6 separate regions of the Homo sapiens genome follow, and all the other regions are linked to region 1. Evidence: promoter capture Hi-C in 16 types of primary human blood cells and fetal thymus (Javierre and others, 2016). All regions are on one chromosome and are shown on one strand. Each heading gives the region's core, a stretch centred on a gene start or on the middle of the fragment in contact. The rest is flanking DNA. Distances are from core to core; before and after follow the strand shown.

Region 1 (2,770 bases), core at 38-2,537:
AGCTCCTTACCTCTTCCTGTCTGAGCCATGTTTGATTTGCTGCAAGAGGAATACGTGTCTAAACTGCTGGATTTTAAAATGTCGCTTGGTCTGTGGATTAGGCCAATCCACCCCACATTGTTGGGGCTGCAGATGCAGTTGAATGGTTCATAATTATAGTCTAAAGAAACTGCAGACAGCAATAGAGCCAACCCAGGCCCTTTCTCTCCTGACAGCCCATGCCAAGCTGTCTCCCACAGGGAACCATAGTGTGGTTATCCTGCAATGTATTTGCCCAAAGACAATACATCCAGTGTAGAGAAGTTGGATTTCTAGAAATTGAGTCTGCTCATCTATCTACTCCCATGTCCATTGTATCCTGTCTTGTGTCTCAAGGGTGTCTGGTACTTCTCCTGCCAAAGTGAAATGCAAAGTAAATGCAAGGAGATGCCAGGGAGAGAACTGCTATCAGGGCATCTGGTTCTAGTACTGACACTGACTTTTTTAGATTGTGTGGCCCTGGAAATAATAATTTCCTCACTCACACTCATTTTTCACCTCTGGTAAATAGGAGTGCTGGACTTGGAGAGCACTGATAAACTCCCATTGAGCTCTAACATGTGACAAATCCAAGACCTAAGGTTTTGTCTCCAAAGAGGCACTACAAATGTGATCTTCTTTCAGAATTTAAACTGTCACTTTTCTGTGACTCAAAACAAATATAAATCTAGTTCTCTTCTCCAATCAGGTAGTTCTCGAATTTCTCAAGTGAGGCTGATGCTGGGCAGGTTGCCAGTTTAAGAACTGAGGAAGGGTCTTGAAGAGATTTTTAAATGAAATGTGGTGATAGTTGTTCTATCTCTCGCTGGAGATCGTTCAGGAAAATTGAGCATCCAAGCTATTCTGCAAAGAGATGGCTGTAGACAGACATTTAATGTGATTTCCCACATATTCTACCGTATACTAGATCTTAATAACAATAATCAAATACTAATTCTCACCTAGACACTGTGCTAAATTCTTTGCATACATTATCTCATTTAATCATTCAAATAGCCTTAAAAGGTGTGTGCTGCTATTATCCCTAGTTGAAACATGGAGGAACTGAGGTTCGGGATTGTTTAAATGACTTACCTGTGGCAATTCAGCTGGCTAGTTGGTAGAGTAAGAATTTGAACCTGAGTCTTATTCCAAAGCCCACACTACTATCCTCTTTGTTTTCTTATATTGAGCTTTCCAGGGCAAACAGGCTCCCAAGTCCTCCCCTCTCCCCCAACCCCACCCCACCCTCCCTTCTTCCCTCCTGACTGCAGCTCCTCCTACCCTCATTGTTTATTGTGCCTTCTAAACAATAGCCAATGAGTCTGTGTTCCATTCTAGGGAGAGCTAGGGCTGATTTTATTCCCTGAAACAGAGATGAGGTTGTGACACAAAAAGGTTAAGTGGCTTTGGTGAGGTCACAGAGCCAGCCTGCAGTCAGCAACAGTACCATCTGAGTCCCCTGGCTTGGGTCCCTTAACTGACCCTAAGGCTTTTTGGCATCCAAGTTTAATTAAGAGAGTTATTTTAATTTTCCTTCCTATCTCTAATTTTCCATTTTATTGCTGCTTGATAATGTAGATATTGAAGTGCCAGGCATTTTTCTTCCCTAGTGTGACTTTTAATGACTAAACTTCTCACATAGAAACCACTTGCCTTAGAAGTAAGCTTTCAAAGCTTGTTTCTGTGTATGACAGAGACTGTTGCCTTTTCTCAGAGAAAAATGAGACCACAAATGCAGCTCAGACAGGTTGTTGTTAATTGAGGGCTTTTTTTTTTTTTTTTTTTTTTCTAAATCTTACATTTATACCAGTAAATCAACATCTGTGAGTCATAAACTGGTTCTGGATCAGCCGTTAGTGGTCTGAATGTTTTTGTACCTACCTTCAGTAAAGCATATTTTAGCTCAAAACTCAGAGATTCTTTGTTTTGTTGAAGTTCAAGACTCAGGAGTAGATAACATGCTAGGACACTTCTGGAGAGGGAAAGTCTGTCTTCCATGATTGTTCAACATTAAGTGTATATTTATATTTCTTTTTTATTGAAGTTGGGGTGGAGTTGAGGGAGGAGTATAAATAAAAAAGAAAGTATGCTTTTTACATACTCCATGTGCTTGAGGAATTCCTGTATGAAGGTGACTATTTTCTTAATATTATTGTCTAGCTCCACTCTTCTGTTCCCCAACTCCTGCGGACTTTTCTTGGCCCTTATTGACTTCACGTTCCTAGTGTAAGGCAATTCAGCACTTGGTAGGATATAATTAGCCGAAGTCTAAGGAATGCTTAAAAATACAATTCTGTTTTTTCCCAAATGCAGGAGGAACAGACTGCTGCAGTACAAGCACAAGCACAGAAGTATTTATTTGATTGATTTTTTTTTTTCCTGAGTGCCTTAAAAACCAGATATGGTATTGAAGTATCTTGCCCAAGTGGATGAAAGGCAACGCTTGGCTGCTGTTGTTTGGCTGGTGGGGACACTGAGGCATACATGTAACCGAGTGGACGTGAGTGCTGGGGATAGAGGTTCTGCTCTACTATGAAGGGAAAAGGGCACAGCCTCTGACACTTTTTAGTTCATCTTCACAAGCCAGAGCATATCAAACTCACTTAATCATTGAATTAGGAAGCCCATAGTGACCAAAAAGTTGATAGTTCATCATTCAACACATATTTATTGAGCTCTGTAATGTCTTAGGCACTAGGCTAGGCATCAATGTTTTAGCGTATGATAACATAGAAATATCATTTAAAGT
Region 2 (2,700 bases), core at 113-2,612, 160 kb after region 1:
AGGAGGTGAGAGAGAGAGAGAGAGAGAATAAAATAGGTATGATTATCTGAAACCTTTAAAGCTTTATGCCATTTATCACCATTGCATAACTTACAGGTGATTATAATAACATAAGAGGCTGTGGTGAATGAAGCTATTAAATTAGAACAATTTTAATTTAAATGTTAAAATGCATACAACATTGAAATGCCAGTGCCCTAATGAGGCAAGAGCCCTTTAAGCAAGAGGGTTTGGAAGGTGGTTTATAGAGACATCCCTAGAATCTTTTAAGGACCATGAAATATTTATTCAAAAAGTTGTCATAACTCAATTTTTTTCGGGAATATTTAGTTCCACTTAATGAATGCATTAAGCTCAGCTGTGTTTCTCAAAGAGCCAGCTGAAGGAAGTACAGAAGTGGGAACAGAAAAACAGAAATAGAAGACGAGCAAAGGTGAGAAAGCAAATGCAGAGCAGGAGGGGTGATGGCAGCTTCACACTGCTCATAGCGTTTGTTTATTCTCGAATCCCGGGAGTAGGTGATTTATTAAATAAGGCCCTCTGCAATCACACCGCCAACCTCTCCACTAAAAATAGCAGTGGGCTGGTTTGAACTTCATGTCAACCTCATATAAACTGGCATCAGTTGTGTCTGCTGTCCTTTGACGGTGTGAGGATTGGGACTCTCTGGGGCTGTCCATCCCTGTGCGCACCTTGGTTGTGGGGCCAGTACACTCCCTTCCGCCCACTTCTCATCAGCCCAGCAGAGTCCAGTTCCTGGTGGGCTGGGGAGCAACAAACAAGGCCAGGGTGCTGAGGACTCATTAGTGACCTGCCTGGCTGCCAAGTGTGCTGAGACATCAAGCTGCTTGTGGCAGTCTGTGGTTTGCTGGGAGGAGATTAATGAGGGAATAGAATAAACACGCACATTGGTTTCTGATAAGAGGAGGGCAGACATTTCAGGACAGGCATACAGCCTGCCTCACAGTCATCACTTCCCCTGGGGCCCATGTAAACACACACACTCACATGTGCTGATGCAGACTTCTTCTCAGCCCCAAACACAGCCAGCTGATAGGGAGGAAGGCCAAGATATAGGAAACATTTCTTTCCTCAGATCTTCAAACTCAATTATACCCATCCAAGAAACGAAATAGATCTTCTTATAACATGAGCTTAAAACTTGATTAACAGTAAGTTGAATTGGCAAACACATTTCTGCTGAGGATGTTGATTGGATAAAATATTTAAATGATTTTATACATGAAAAAATAGAGTTGGAGAGTATATGACTTATTTCAAGATTATCCAACAGTAGTGCTAATGTTTCTTTGGGAGACATGGACATTTTTGTGAATCTGATGAAAGCTAGAGACAGTGTCCCCAGAAAAATGAGTGCATGCATGCGCGCACACACACACATACACACACAAACACACACAGCTAGAAAGAGATAGAGACAGAGACAGAGATAGACCTACCGATGCCATTTCAGGAGGGTTGTATTGTCTCTGAAGCTCATTTATGGACTCCAAAATGGGTTCAGAATAAAAATCCTGGCCTAGCATATCATGGAAAATCTCACGTGGGTTAGAGAAATCTGAAAATTTGGTGAGAGTGCCCTACTAAGAATTTTGCTAGGTACTTGATGGATATTATTTCTACTTTTAATAACAATTGTGCAAGGTAGGCACCATTTACCTCCCTTTTACCAATGAGAATATTGTGACTGAGAGAAGCAAACTGACTTAGGGAGACGGGGTTTCCTAGTGCTTAGGAGCCTGGGCTCTGATGTCAAATTACATGGGTTCTAATTCTGTTTTTTCCACTGATCAGTTAGAAGATTCCAGACAAGTTTCCCATCCCTTTGTGTCTCAGGTTCTTCAGCTGTCAGTGGGAATAATGATGGAACTTATTTCATAGGCTCTTATGAAGATTAAATAATATAAGACAAGCTAAGTGCTTAGAACATTGACCTGGGCACAGTGAGCATGAGATACATTTTGTTGTAATCGCTGTTTAGGTCAAGGATCATAAAGCTATAAGTGGAGGAACCAAAAATCAAACTAGGTTTTGTCTGGCTGGAGCCTGTACACTTTCCTCCACACCTCGCAGGTTTCTAAAACCTGTTTTACATTTGGCCTTTGGCAAATCATGTAATGTTTCCAAACTTGAGTTTCTGCATCCATAAGATATAGGCAATGATAATAATAATAAAACACCTTCCTACTTTTTTGGAAGGATTAAATATGACAACAATAAGTACATTTTAGTAAACTGTCAGGTACTGTGCGAATATCCAAGGTTGTTACTATCAATGATGAAAGGATAAATCTAACTCAAAGGGCTTTGTGTTTTCACTTCTACACTTATGTTCATAGAATTAAATCTGTATCATGTGCAATCACCTTCAGATCTATCTTGGATTACACAAGTCATTGGGCAGGGGGTGGTCATGGTTCTGAAACAAAAATTCTATGATCTTCGTGACTGTTAAGGAGATAAGGTAGGGTTTAACCACCCCACTGGACTTTCAATAACATTTGGCTAAGGTAGGAAGAAAAAACACACACACTAAATGATTTTATTAAAACAAGTGTTTGAGGGTCACATTTATGTTTATTCCAAAATTGAAAGAACATAGTAGTAGCCAACAAGTTCATTATGTTGGCACAGAAGCTTATACTTTTTTAAACATCAAGTTCATTGTCCTCAGCTGGA
Region 3 (2,730 bases), core at 125-2,624, 130 kb before region 1:
GAAAGGGTGGGGGCAGGGAGGTAAGCTCTTAGATACTTTGAAGAAAAGTCCAAGGGTACTTCCTATAACCCCACCTTGCCTGAGATGGGGAAAAAAGAAGACTTCAGTAATATCGTCTCCACGTCCTCTGCAGAGAACTCCCTTCTGTAGGCCACCTGTTGAACGTTATCCCTAATCCTGCACTCCCAAGCTATATCACTCGCTCCTCCTGCTGACTCCGGAAAAAGGCTACTCTGTTGTTGCTGTTGTTGTTTTGAAGTTCTCTTGTCTTTTCCAGGCTGAGTTGAATTTAACATGAATGGCTTAGTCTTGATGACACTCAAAAGTTAGGTAAATGTTTACGCCACCCAGCCGTTAGTTGGAATTCTGTAGGAATACTTGTGACTCATGTGAAAATCCTTGTGGATAGTTTTATAAAGTTGTCTTACTGAAAGAGAGTATCTGCATTTTAGAAAATCCAAAGCAAATGTCTGCTCAGTGAATCCTTTTTTAACCACTGGCTTCTCTCATGGCTTCTCTCTATTTCACATTTGTAGAGTGTATTTCCCACCCATAGCTGTTTTTGTTCTAAATCATAAGACTCTGTGGTGTAGCTTCGATTTTTTTCAAATATTCTCTTACTTGTTTGCATTTTCAACCTTCTCTACTCCCTGTAAGCCTCTCACATCCCTACTTCACCTCCTGCCCAAAGGAGGACCTTGCGTCCTACTGCACTGAGAAAAGAGAAGTGCTCAGGAGGCAACTTCTTTACCTTCCTGCAACCAAATCTGCAAATTCCTATCGGCCTCCATATTACCCTGCTCCTTTCCTATGACAGTGGAGAAAGTGCTCCTTTCCTGTGACAGTCTCTTGGGTCACCATTTCACAGACTAGGAAACATGCAGAGTGATAAAGAACTGTCCACGATCTTGTATCTAGTCAAAGTCAGTGGCAGATGACTTTGAACTCAAGCCTCCCAATGGCCCCAATGCTGTTCTCACTGCATCATAGTGCCTTTTAATTTTTAAAATTAGGTAAGCAGTATTTTATTTCAAAATGTTTGCAGTGGACATGTCTGTCAAGCTTCCATGCTCCCTGCAGGTATTTGCAAGAGAACGGGATCTCTGCATGGTGATACATGTGGCTCTGGGGAGGTTGACTGTACCCTCAGCTCTAGCTGTGGAGAAATCACCTAGCAGCATCTCCCAACCACAGTGATTGGTTCAGAAGTGGGCCCATGTCCTAAGCTGGTCCAATCAGAGTGGCACGTAGATGGCTCCTCTCCTTCTGTATGGTATGGTGTGAGGATGGGAAGCCTGGAACCATTGTAGCTATTTTACCAGTATGAGGTAAGTCAACCTGGAGATAAAGCTAATCACAGAAATGGACTGAAAACAAGAGATTTGCAGGAAATTAAAGCAGGTTAAATCATAACCCAACCTCCTCAGTTATGTTAGTCATACATTCCTATTATTATTTAATTCACTTTGAATTCAGTTTTCTGTAACCTATAACAGAAAACACAACTGACAGATATAACTTTTTTCTGATTAAAAGATTGATTTTTTATACATGACATAGATAATTCTGAAAAATATAAAGAAGAGATGAAAATAATCTATAATTTTACTACCCAGAATAACTGCTGTTAACACTTTAAAGGTTCCTTTCCAGTGTTTCTTGGAGAAGAGATAGAAATTAAGCTTTGTTTGTACAATTTTTTTTAACTATTATATTACATGAAAATTTACATGTCCTTGTGTGATCATTGAATATGGCAACATGTTTAAACCATTTATATTTATTTTCAAAATAGCTATGGTTGAACTTAACATTATTTAGTTTTACATTTTGTGTATTTGTCATTTCTTACAATTTCATTTTTAAAATCACTTGTGTTATATAAAACAATTTTTAGATTTAGTTTGTTAAAAGAAAAACGTCAGCTGAATTACATTTAAAGGAGTTTACTTAAGCAAGGAACGATTCGCTAATCAGGCAGCCCCCAGAATCACAACAGATTCAAAGAGACTACATACAGTGCAGCGACGTGGTGGAAGATTTATAGACCAAAAAAAAAAAAAAAATGGGAAATGACATACAGAAATCGGAAGTGAGGTACAGAGCAGCTGGATTGGTTGCAGCTTGTCCTTTGCCTTATTTGAACACTCAGCAGTGTATGGTTGAAGTAGGGCTGCTGGGATTGGCCAAGACTCAGCTATTGTTACAGGCACATACTCCTAAGTTAGGTTTTCAATCTTGTCTACCTATGAAGTTAAGTTGCAGTTCATCCACAAGGACTCAAATACAGAGGTGCAGGGTCCTCAGGCCATATTTAGTTTGCTTTAAGAAGTTGTCCTTAAACATTTACTGAGCACTTGCCCCTTGAAAGTTTCTGGGAACAATGAGTTCCTGTCTTTGTGGAGCATACTGGCTGGTGGAGAAGGCAGACGTTTAGTCAGAAATACACAAAGATGAGCGTATTATTATAAATATGGTGATTATTTTAAAGGAAATGACATGTGTACGAGTTTAGGTGGTGTAGTCACTCATTTAGACCTGTGGGTAAACAGGAGGGTGGGCTGTGAAGTCAGGGAAGTGTTCCATGCAGAAATGATGCTTGAGTGGATTAGGCAAAAATGGAAAGAAGTTAGCTGGAGTGAGGGAGGGTGTGTGGGGTCGGGGAGACCCTTTTCTGCAGAGGGAGAAGAATGGGCAAAGGCCACGTCAGGAGGCAGCTCGGCACATCTG
Region 4 (2,782 bases), core at 277-2,776, 150 kb after region 1:
GCCTAGGCAGGAGAATTGACGTAAAAAGAGAGTGGGAAGGATTTTTGATATAAAATTCTAAAGTGTGATAAAGGCAAAATTTTAAAAAACTGGCATCTAGAAATCTCAGAAAAAGGATAGAGCATTATAAGAAAGAACTGTAATCATGAAAACACTACGTTACTCTGCTTTGTGCAATACTGACACAGTCAAAATAACAGGGATAGGGTTAGTTGACTTTCAACTTCTATAATCAGCTCAGTGATGCAAGCTGGCTATGGAATAAAATGTACCTTCCCTCCTCTGTGACAATATAAAAGAAGTGCGCATGTGAGAAATTGGGAGGTAGCAGGTGGTGCGGTGGGGAGAGCTGAGAGTAGAAAGAAAAGACAGGGATGCTAAAAGATGTTGCCTTTAGTTGGTAAAACAAGAAACAAAAGTATGATAATAAGTAATTACAAAAGATTAAAGAATAAATGACATAATTTTTATTTACTACGAGATTGGGTTTAGGGTGAGTTTGTGTGAACTAAATCTTAATCTATCATAGTGGGGATTCAAAAGATAATGTATAAAATGAATAAATTAAAAGTGCAGGCAAAAACATGCATTGTCTAGAAAGATGGCACTAACTCCCAGAAAAATAGCCCAAAGAGTTAAAAGAGTTTTCTCTGGGGAGGGGAAGGGGAAGAGGGAAGGGACAGAGGCCTTTCATGTATAAGCCCTTTTTATTATTCTTTATTTCAACCATGTGCACACATATTATTTGATAATTGAAAATATATTGTAAAAAATAATTTATTTTTACTTTCTATCCTCATAATGCAAACGTATTTTATATTATTAATTTTCCACTTACAGCTTTAACAAAAACATTTTCCTTGACAGTACATGGCCTTTATGATGATTCATTTATATGATGATGTAATATTTTGTATGGTTTCTCTGGCAGTCCTGATCCATTCATATTCCTTCTCTCAGTTTTCCTGTGTCTATGAATACCTGAAAGAAGTGGTTGAAGCTTGGGGGAGCAGTCTATGGCCAAAGAAGGACATTGTTTTTCTCTTTTTTTTCTCTGAAAATAGCTAAATATTGACCTGGGCCTCATTAGCACTGTGCATTAACCAAGTTCAAAGCACCAGGCAGAGCTGTGTAGAGGTCTCGCTTACTGCAGCAGCCCCTGGGTGGTGCACACACACCCTGAGACCTACAAGGTTAGAGACAGTTGCATCCCAGCCTGGACAGCATCAACCCAAGGCTGCCCTTTGCACTGACACTGCTCCCAAGTTCATTTGAAATGGGGACTGCCAGAAAGACAAGTCTTCATTTGCAAAGCAAGAGCATGGTTTTAATTATCCTTTAGATCCATAAAAAAGCAAGGGGGGTGGGGATAGATTTATGGCTTTAAATTCTCTTCTTTGCCATTTATAAAACAGTATTTATCAGGTGTGGGGCACATGGCAGCTCTGGGGAGTGCCAGACGGGGATCAAAAGCAAAGCATAAAAACCTTCCCCTTTCAACATACCTAATCTCTTCCTTCTATCTATAAATGGCCACATTTACCTCCTGGCTCAGAAAAGTGATTCATTCTGGCACTTTGCTGTTTGAGGTATCAAGAGTGAGTAAGAGTGTGCAGGGTCTGTACTAACTGCCCTTTGATGTTTCCTTCAGAAGAACAGAAAGATGGCCAACAGCCCCTGGTGGGTGTTGGCACTGCCATTGCCTTGGAGAGTGTCCCTTTCACAGGGAGACATTTGCATCCTTCTACTAGAGCATCATATAGGAACACAGCTGGAGAAATAGTAATAAATCATTCATCTTTTCAGTGCTGTTTAGTTATCTCCTATATACCCCCGACACTGCCAGGTCATAGTAGATTCCAATGAAGTGTAAGATATGATACCTTACTTCAGAAAGCATCAATGTTTGTTGACAAGAAAATCTTGTACGTAGTAGAGTCGTAGATTATTAAAACAAGTTTTGGTGGTGTTGAGTTTTGGGAACAGATGATCATTGGTAGGGCTTCAGATTGACTTGGGTTTTCCCAGAAGGTATGATGTGGGCTAAGCTTTGAACAATGGCTTTACGGACTGAATGTTTCTGCCCCTCTCCCTGCCATTCCTATTTCTAGAGTTGAAGCCCTAACCCTAAGCATGGCTGTATTTGGAGATGGGGCCTTTAAGGAAGCAACTAAGATTAAATGAGGTCATAAAGATGGGGTCCTGATCTGATATGATTAGTGTCCTTGTAAGAAGATATACCAGAGGGAGACCTCCCTCTTCCTCTCTGCCATGTGAGGACATAGCAAGAAGGTGGCCATCTACAAGCCAGGAAAAGAGCCCTCACCAGAAACTGAATTTACCACAACTTGATTCCAGACTTCCAGCCTCCAGAACTGTGAGAAAATATTCTGTTGTTTAAGTCACCTCATCTGTGGCATTTTGTCGTGGCAGCCAGGGCTGACCAATACAGATTGGTAGGATTTCAATAGAAAGAAAAAGAGAGAGCATTCAAGATGGGTAAAATACAAACACAAGCCTGAGACCAGCATAAACATGGCATGGGTGAGGGACAAGAGGAGAGGGTACATGTTAGAATTGCGTACTGGGCCAGTGGTTTCTGGGTGTGGTATGTCCCATTCTTCTGAATTGTGGCTTGTTGACCAATAAAAACCTGTAAAGGGCAGATTTAGGAAGCATAAATACATTTGCTTCTAGAAAACAAAGCAAATTTATTTGAGTTCTTTGTAGATTCCGGATATCAGCCTTTTGTCAGATGAGTAGATTGCAAAAATTTTCTCCC
Region 5 (2,837 bases), core at 182-2,681, 180 kb after region 1:
GAACAACAGCAATGTTTTAGATTCCTGTGCTACAGGGCATTTTTTTCTTCCCTGTGGCTGGCCCATGTGTTTAGGGAGGGCCGTGAAGGCTGAGTTCAGGGCTGCCTCTTGTTTCCCCCTGGCCTCCTGCTGCCAAAGTCTCTGCTCTCAGCCTTGTCAGGCTTAGCCCAGGAAACATCTGCAAGGGCACTTCACGGTGACGCATTCTCAGGATGAGACAGCCAGGCCTCAGAGCAGCCTGCTGGGCCCATCTCCTCCAGAACATGTGTGGGGAGGCTGAGGAAAGAGAACTTGGGGCTGGGCTTGTCACCTGGGGCACAGAGGGCTCAGATGACGTGATCCTATTGTCTAAAGGACAGCAGTCTGTTGTTTTTGTTCTTTTTAGTAAAATAAATAAAGCCTCCCATTTCTATGATAATGCATGAGCCACCAGAGCATGGCTTGATGGTCCCACCTGGACTCAATGCCTGGGCTGTCATGGAGGGTTATGGAGCAAGTGGGTGACTAATTATTTGCACAGCTCTGGCCTAATGAATAGCTTTGGATAGAGAACTTCCTGGAGTCAGCTGGGGAGTACTCCACCCATGCAGCTTGATTACAGAAGCTATTTTGAAGTGCATTTTTGTTACTCCCAGAGGCGAAGGCCACTTGATGGGCCAGATTGCCCTCGTAAGCCAAGCATGGCTCATTCTCATTGCACCTGAACATTCGGCACGTCCTGCACACAGGAGAGGGTGTCTGAGTGCTGCCCTCAAAGTGTGGGCTTCCTGCACCTATCCTGTCTCCGGCTTCTCTTCCAACTTTTGTTATTTCTGGGGAGAATGACTTCAGCTTGGGTTGCAGGCGAGGAAAGATTTTGAAATGTTTCTGTGTTGAGGAGTAGGTCCTCTCTCTGTCTTTACCTTCCCGTGTGCAGAAACTGCAGAGGACATGTGTTGCCCTTCCGGTGGCCTGGGAAGCTACTGGTTTTCCTTTTAGGACACGAAGGGTAGACTAAAGCTATGTTTTCTGCGATGTTTTACTTTAGTCGTGCTCATGCACTGTGCCAAAGATACTGAAGTGTACTTCCTAAAGAGGAGAAATAAAAGTGCTGGGGGCGGGGAGTTTGATGGGTTGGTCGATAGGTGATCCGTGATTGAGCATTACAAAAATGAGGCCTGAGCTGCTGGTGCTTAAAGTTATTTCTAAATGCTTGCCGAGGCGCCTAACTTCGCTTTCTTCTCAGTGCAGATCTCCTTTCACTGAGGTCCTGTGCGGGGAGCTTGTTTCTTTGATATGGAAATGTGCACATTGATTCCTGCTGGAGGACCCAGGAGCCTCTGGGACCCCGCAGCTCAGGAGGCAGTTTTGGGTTGAAAGTTGGGGAGCGGAATTCATCTGGTCTCTGTTTCCACTTCCTTCCTCCACGCTGCTGTCTGAAGTTTGTTTCTCTTCTGGCTTTCTCTTTCCTATCTCAGATTCTTTCCAGTGCTTAGGGAAATCTCTTTCCACTTTTCCGAAAGCAAAATAAATGAAGCCACGATAGAGGCTGCCCTGCTCCTCAAAATACCTATGGGGGTAAGACGTAGAAATCCTAAAGCTGAAGTGTGATTTGGGAGATGGGTACGCTATGCCCTGCCCACGAATAATTCAGAGTAATAGGTAGATTCTGCCTATTTTCTGAGTGGCTTTTAGATTCACTAAAAGGTGACATTGGATGAGGTTTCAGGCAACGGAGCCAAGACAGGAAACTCAACCAAGATGATCACCAGGGACACGCCCCTGCATTTCCTCAGAGTAAGAGAGATCATACATCTGACTTGAGGCTTTTAAGCAAGGAGACTAAAGGTTGTTTGGCACAGTACAGTATTCATTTTAAGAGACTACAGACATAATCCAACTGTGAGATTCTAATCCTTTCTACGGCTTTTCCTTGGAAACAAACTGTAGGCAAGTCGTTATAGCCATGGTGCCCCTACGGTCAGCATGTTTTTCGATGCCTTCACAAAATATGAGACTAGAAAAAAGAATGACTGGGCCCAAAATGTAAAAATAAAGCTGTAAATAAAAATTAATACATATTTAACTTATTAATAATTTTGTCAGAGACTGTAGCAATTCAACACAGATTATTTTTCCCCCTATTTTACTGAGGTATGATCGACAAATAAAATTTGAGTATATTTATCATGTACAACATGATGTTCTGATAGATGTATACATTGTGAAATGATTACCACAAACAAGTTAACTGATCCATAACCTCATAGTTATCTTTTGTGTATGTGTGCAGTGAGAATAGTTAAGATCTACTGTTTAAAAATATTTCAAGGCCAGGTGTGGTGGCTCACGCCTGTAATCCCAGCACTTTGGGAGGCCGAGGCAGGCAGATCATGAGGTCAAGAGATCAAGACCATCCTGGCCAACATGGTGAAACCCCGTCTGTACTAAAAACACAAAAATTAGTTGGGCATGGTGGCGCGTGCCTGTAGTCCCAGCCTCTTGGGAGGCTGAGGCAGGAGAATCGCTTGAACCCGGGAGGCAGAGATTGCAGTGAGCCAAGATCATGCCACTGCACTCCAGCCTGGGAGATAGCAAGACTCTGTCTCAAAAAAAAAAAAAAAAATCAATTATATCATATAGTATTGTTATAGTCACCATGCTGTACATTAAGTCTCTAGAACCTATTCTCGTAACGGAGAGTTTGTACCCTTTGACCACATCTCTCCTTTTCTCTTTCCCCCAGCCCCTGACAACCACTATTCTAATTCTACTTTCTGTTTCTATGAATATGACTTTTTTAAAGTCCACATATAAGTAAGATCATACAGTATTTGTCTTTCTCTTATCATATAGAA
Region 6 (2,838 bases), core at 198-2,697, 250 kb before region 1:
CTAGAAGGAGAGGCTGCCTTCCCCAAGGAGGGGCTGGTTGGGGGCATCTGGCCTCTCTCCCAAGGGACCTAGATTCCCTCCTCTTCTCCGATTTCTACTTCATTAGTTCCCCAGGCTCTGTTTTCTTAAGGAACTTGTTCTGATGCAGGCAGGTCCTCCTGGAGTCTGGCCTCCCTCTCTGTGGCTTTGGACTGCTTTCTCCTGCCTTGAGGCTCTTTCTGGCCTGACCCTGCCACAGGCCTGTGCTGCTGAGCTCCCCCACCTTCCCGATGCCAGCACATCAGGGTAAACAGGCCATGATGAAGGTGGTGGTGGGGACGCAGTGCTCCCTGAACATGCACGGTGTGCCAGACGCTTTCCATCTATTTTCTCACTTAATCCTTGCATAAGCCATACAGAGCCAGCATTCCCTTATTCCTTTTTACAGATGAAAGGAGCAACACTCAGCGAAGTCATATCATTTTCCCAGGATCACACAGCCAGAGAGTGCAGAAGGCAGGAGCCCCATCGTGGTCTATTCACAAAACCTGTCCTCAATCTGGCAGATCCCACTGCCTCCAGGCTAAATCGTAGAAATAGGCAAAACTCACCTATGGGGCTGGGAAGCAGGGTGGTGGTTAGTTTTGTGGAGGAAGCGGTTGTGGGGTGGAGAGAGGGTACAGGGGGCTGAAATTCTACTCCTTGGCCCGGGAGGTGCTTATGGGAGTGGGTGGATTCACGTCACGATAATGTCTCACGTAGCGCACTTCATGATTTTTGCACTTCTCTCTGTGTTGTACTTCAGTTCAAACTGAAGTATAAGATTTGCCTACTTGGTTATTTGTAAGTTTCTGTATATGTGTTTGTATGTATATATTTGTATATGGGTGTGTATGCATATACATATATCTATTTATTGAGGGCATTTTTGCTCTAAAAAGCATAAAGTAGCTCCTGCTGAGAATAGAATGGCCTTCCCAAAGTGCAAGCATGGGGAAAAGATCATTTTCCATTCCATGTTTGAATCCATGTGCTGCTAGAGACAGTACCTGGATCTGAAAGGAGAGGGGAGTGAGCAGTGTGAGGCTTTGCAGGTGTGGGGTAGAACCCCAACAATCACGGTTTCTGCTGCTTCACATTCCCTCAACCTAACCTGCTTTTCATCGGGGACACCTGGGCCAGGGGGCGCAAGCGTCCCAGTGCCAAAGCCTTTGTCTCCTGCCTCGCTGTGACCATAGAATTCACCAGTGCCCCCTCACAGCCAGCCTATTGAATCCAGGTCTCTCTTTTCTCTGGGCTGCACTGCTATATCAACAGCTCTGGCTGAGTGTGCAGGAGCGGGAGGGTGCAAGGCTCTGGGATCTTTAAACAACAATCCTGGCTGACTACTGGGTCCAGGGAAACCTGGCCTTTTGTTCAGCTGGCATTCTGTTCTCCTTCACCAGTCAAACCCAGGCCTGGAAGTGATAAGATTGCACCAGCTTAATTGCCCAGACTCAAAACCTCTGCCCGACCATCTGAGGCTGCAGGTGGAAAGACCAGAAAATGCAAAATGTGTTTTCCATTAAAGTTTAAATTAAAAATGGGAATGAAGATAGACACCCTTTCCGTGGTCTCCCGGTCGCGCAGTTTCATTCTTTTGAGCAGCCACTGTTTGAAGACGCAGTTTCTTAGTGTTTTTTTTTCCAGGTCAGACCCAGATTGACATACAAAACGAACTTGTTTGTAAAACTTAAAAAAGGCTCTTTTTCTTTCTGCCTCCCCACCTCCCCCGGGGCCTCGGGGCTCCCAGCCTTGCGCAAACTCCCCCCAGCGGCCCTGAGCCTGAACTGCCAGCCCGGCGCCCTCCGTTTCTTCGAGGTCCTTCCCCGCCTTGGCCTGAGAAGGGACAAATCTCGTTCCCGCAGCAGCTGCTGCGAAGGCTCCTCTGCCACACGGGGTGTGTCCGGGAGAGATACTGGTGGGGCCGACAGTCAGGCCCAGAGAAGGACAAAGTTAGCGTGGTGATAGGTTTGGCTTAATCGGCCTCCTTCCAGGAGGCCACAGGAAAGTTTTTGGAAAGCATTTATCTCTTGGTACAAATGACAACAGAAAATGCTGTGGGGGAAGTGGCCGGGCTGCCCACGTGGAAGGCCGGGAGTGAGGCTGCCTTGCCTGTGTGGCGCAGGCTGGCTTGCTGTCTCCAGGGCCGGGGGAACGTCGGCAACGCGAGGCCAGGGACTGGGACTCCAGAGGCCCTAGTCTGAGATGCCAGGTGCTCTCAATCGGCTGGATGCCTTTGAACCAATTTCTGAAGCTGTCTGGGCCTCAGTGGGTTCAGCTTCAAAATGGGTACTGTAGATAGTTGTCCACAAGGGGGCAACCTTTTTTCCTCTGAAGACAGAGCCTCGGTCTATCGCCCAGGCCAGAGTGCGGTGGTGCGATCTCAGCTCACTGCAGCCTCCCCCTCCCGCATTCAAGCGACTCTCCTGCCTCAGCCTCCCAAGTAGCTAGGATTACAGGCGCCCACCACCACACCTGGCTCATTTTTGTATGTTTAGTAGAGACGGGGTTTCACCACGTTGGCCAGGCTGGTCTCCAACTTCTGGCCTCAGGTGATCCACCCGCCTTGGCCTCCCAAAGTGCTGGGATTGACAGGTGTAAACCCTGGAGTTTCCCAGGACTCATGGGAATTACCCCCAAGAACCGTGGCCACCCCAGCCATCACAGTCCTCCTTGCATTTCCTGTGGTGGTGGGGGGGAGGGGTGGGCGCCTGTGTGGCGTGTGACACAGCTCCTCTGGCACAGCTGACACGCCCAGGTGTGAAGAACAAGCACCTCCCTAGCATGCCTGGCCATCAGACAGGGTCTGTAGGGGCA

Evidence for each region. The method cuts DNA at HindIII sites, captures the fragments that hold promoters and counts their contacts. A CHiCAGO score of 5 or more calls a contact.
Region 2: a contact is called between a fragment that was not itself captured here and the fragment with the promoter of ETS1-AS1 in region 1, in 13 of 17 cell types (activated CD4 T cells, non-activated CD4 T cells, naive CD8 T cells and 10 more). The highest score is 18.5, in activated CD4 T cells.
Region 3: a contact is called between a fragment that was not itself captured here and the fragment with the promoter of ETS1-AS1 in region 1, in 9 of 17 cell types (total B cells, total CD8 T cells, naive B cells and 6 more). The highest score is 12.8, in total B cells.
Region 4: a contact is called between a fragment that was not itself captured here and the fragment with the promoter of ETS1-AS1 in region 1, in 9 of 17 cell types (activated CD4 T cells, total CD8 T cells, naive CD8 T cells and 6 more). The highest score is 17.7, in activated CD4 T cells.
Region 5: a fragment that was not itself captured here is called in contact with the fragment with the promoter of ETS1-AS1 in region 1 in 14 of 17 cell types (activated CD4 T cells, non-activated CD4 T cells, total CD8 T cells and 11 more); the score reaches 34.9 in activated CD4 T cells.
Region 6: a contact is called between a fragment that was not itself captured here and the fragment with the promoter of ETS1-AS1 in region 1, in 10 of 17 cell types (total CD8 T cells, activated CD4 T cells, neutrophils and 7 more). The highest score is 17.6, in total CD8 T cells.

What each region holds. Positions count from the first base shown.
Region 1 is chr11:128,524,659-128,527,428 of GRCh38, reverse strand. ETS1-AS1 (ETS1 antisense RNA 1) reads right to left here and starts at 1,287. Exons shown (of 4, transcript NR_120581.1): 1 at 1,114-1,287; 2 at 11-896. All of the region lies in intron 3 of ETS1 (ETS proto-oncogene 1, transcription factor), which reads left to right. The HindIII fragment of the contact is 5,425 bases long and covers 1-1,688 here.
Region 2 is chr11:128,359,808-128,362,507 of GRCh38, reverse strand. No RefSeq gene overlaps it. Among named protein-coding and RNA genes, the nearest start is that of LINC02098, 150 kb to the right of the region's middle. The HindIII fragment of the contact is 2,597 bases long and covers 64-2,660 here.
Region 3 is chr11:128,658,056-128,660,785 of GRCh38, reverse strand. No RefSeq gene overlaps it. Among named protein-coding and RNA genes, the nearest start is that of FLI1, 35 kb to the left of the region's middle. The HindIII fragment of the contact is 620 bases long and covers 1,065-1,684 here.
Region 4 is chr11:128,378,541-128,381,322 of GRCh38, reverse strand. No RefSeq gene overlaps it. Among named protein-coding and RNA genes, the nearest start is that of MIR6090, 140 kb to the left of the region's middle. The HindIII fragment of the contact is 1,048 bases long and covers 1,003-2,050 here.
Region 5 is chr11:128,340,409-128,343,245 of GRCh38, reverse strand. No RefSeq gene overlaps it. Among named protein-coding and RNA genes, the nearest start is that of LINC02098, 130 kb to the right of the region's middle. The HindIII fragment of the contact is 4,157 bases long and covers 1-2,837 here.
Region 6 is chr11:128,776,168-128,779,005 of GRCh38, reverse strand. The region is part of intron 4 of FLI1 (Fli-1 proto-oncogene, ETS transcription factor); the gene reads right to left. Among named protein-coding and RNA genes, the nearest start is that of SENCR, 82 kb to the right of the region's middle. RefSeq lists an enhancer at 1,673-2,278. The HindIII fragment of the contact is 3,048 bases long and covers 1-2,838 here.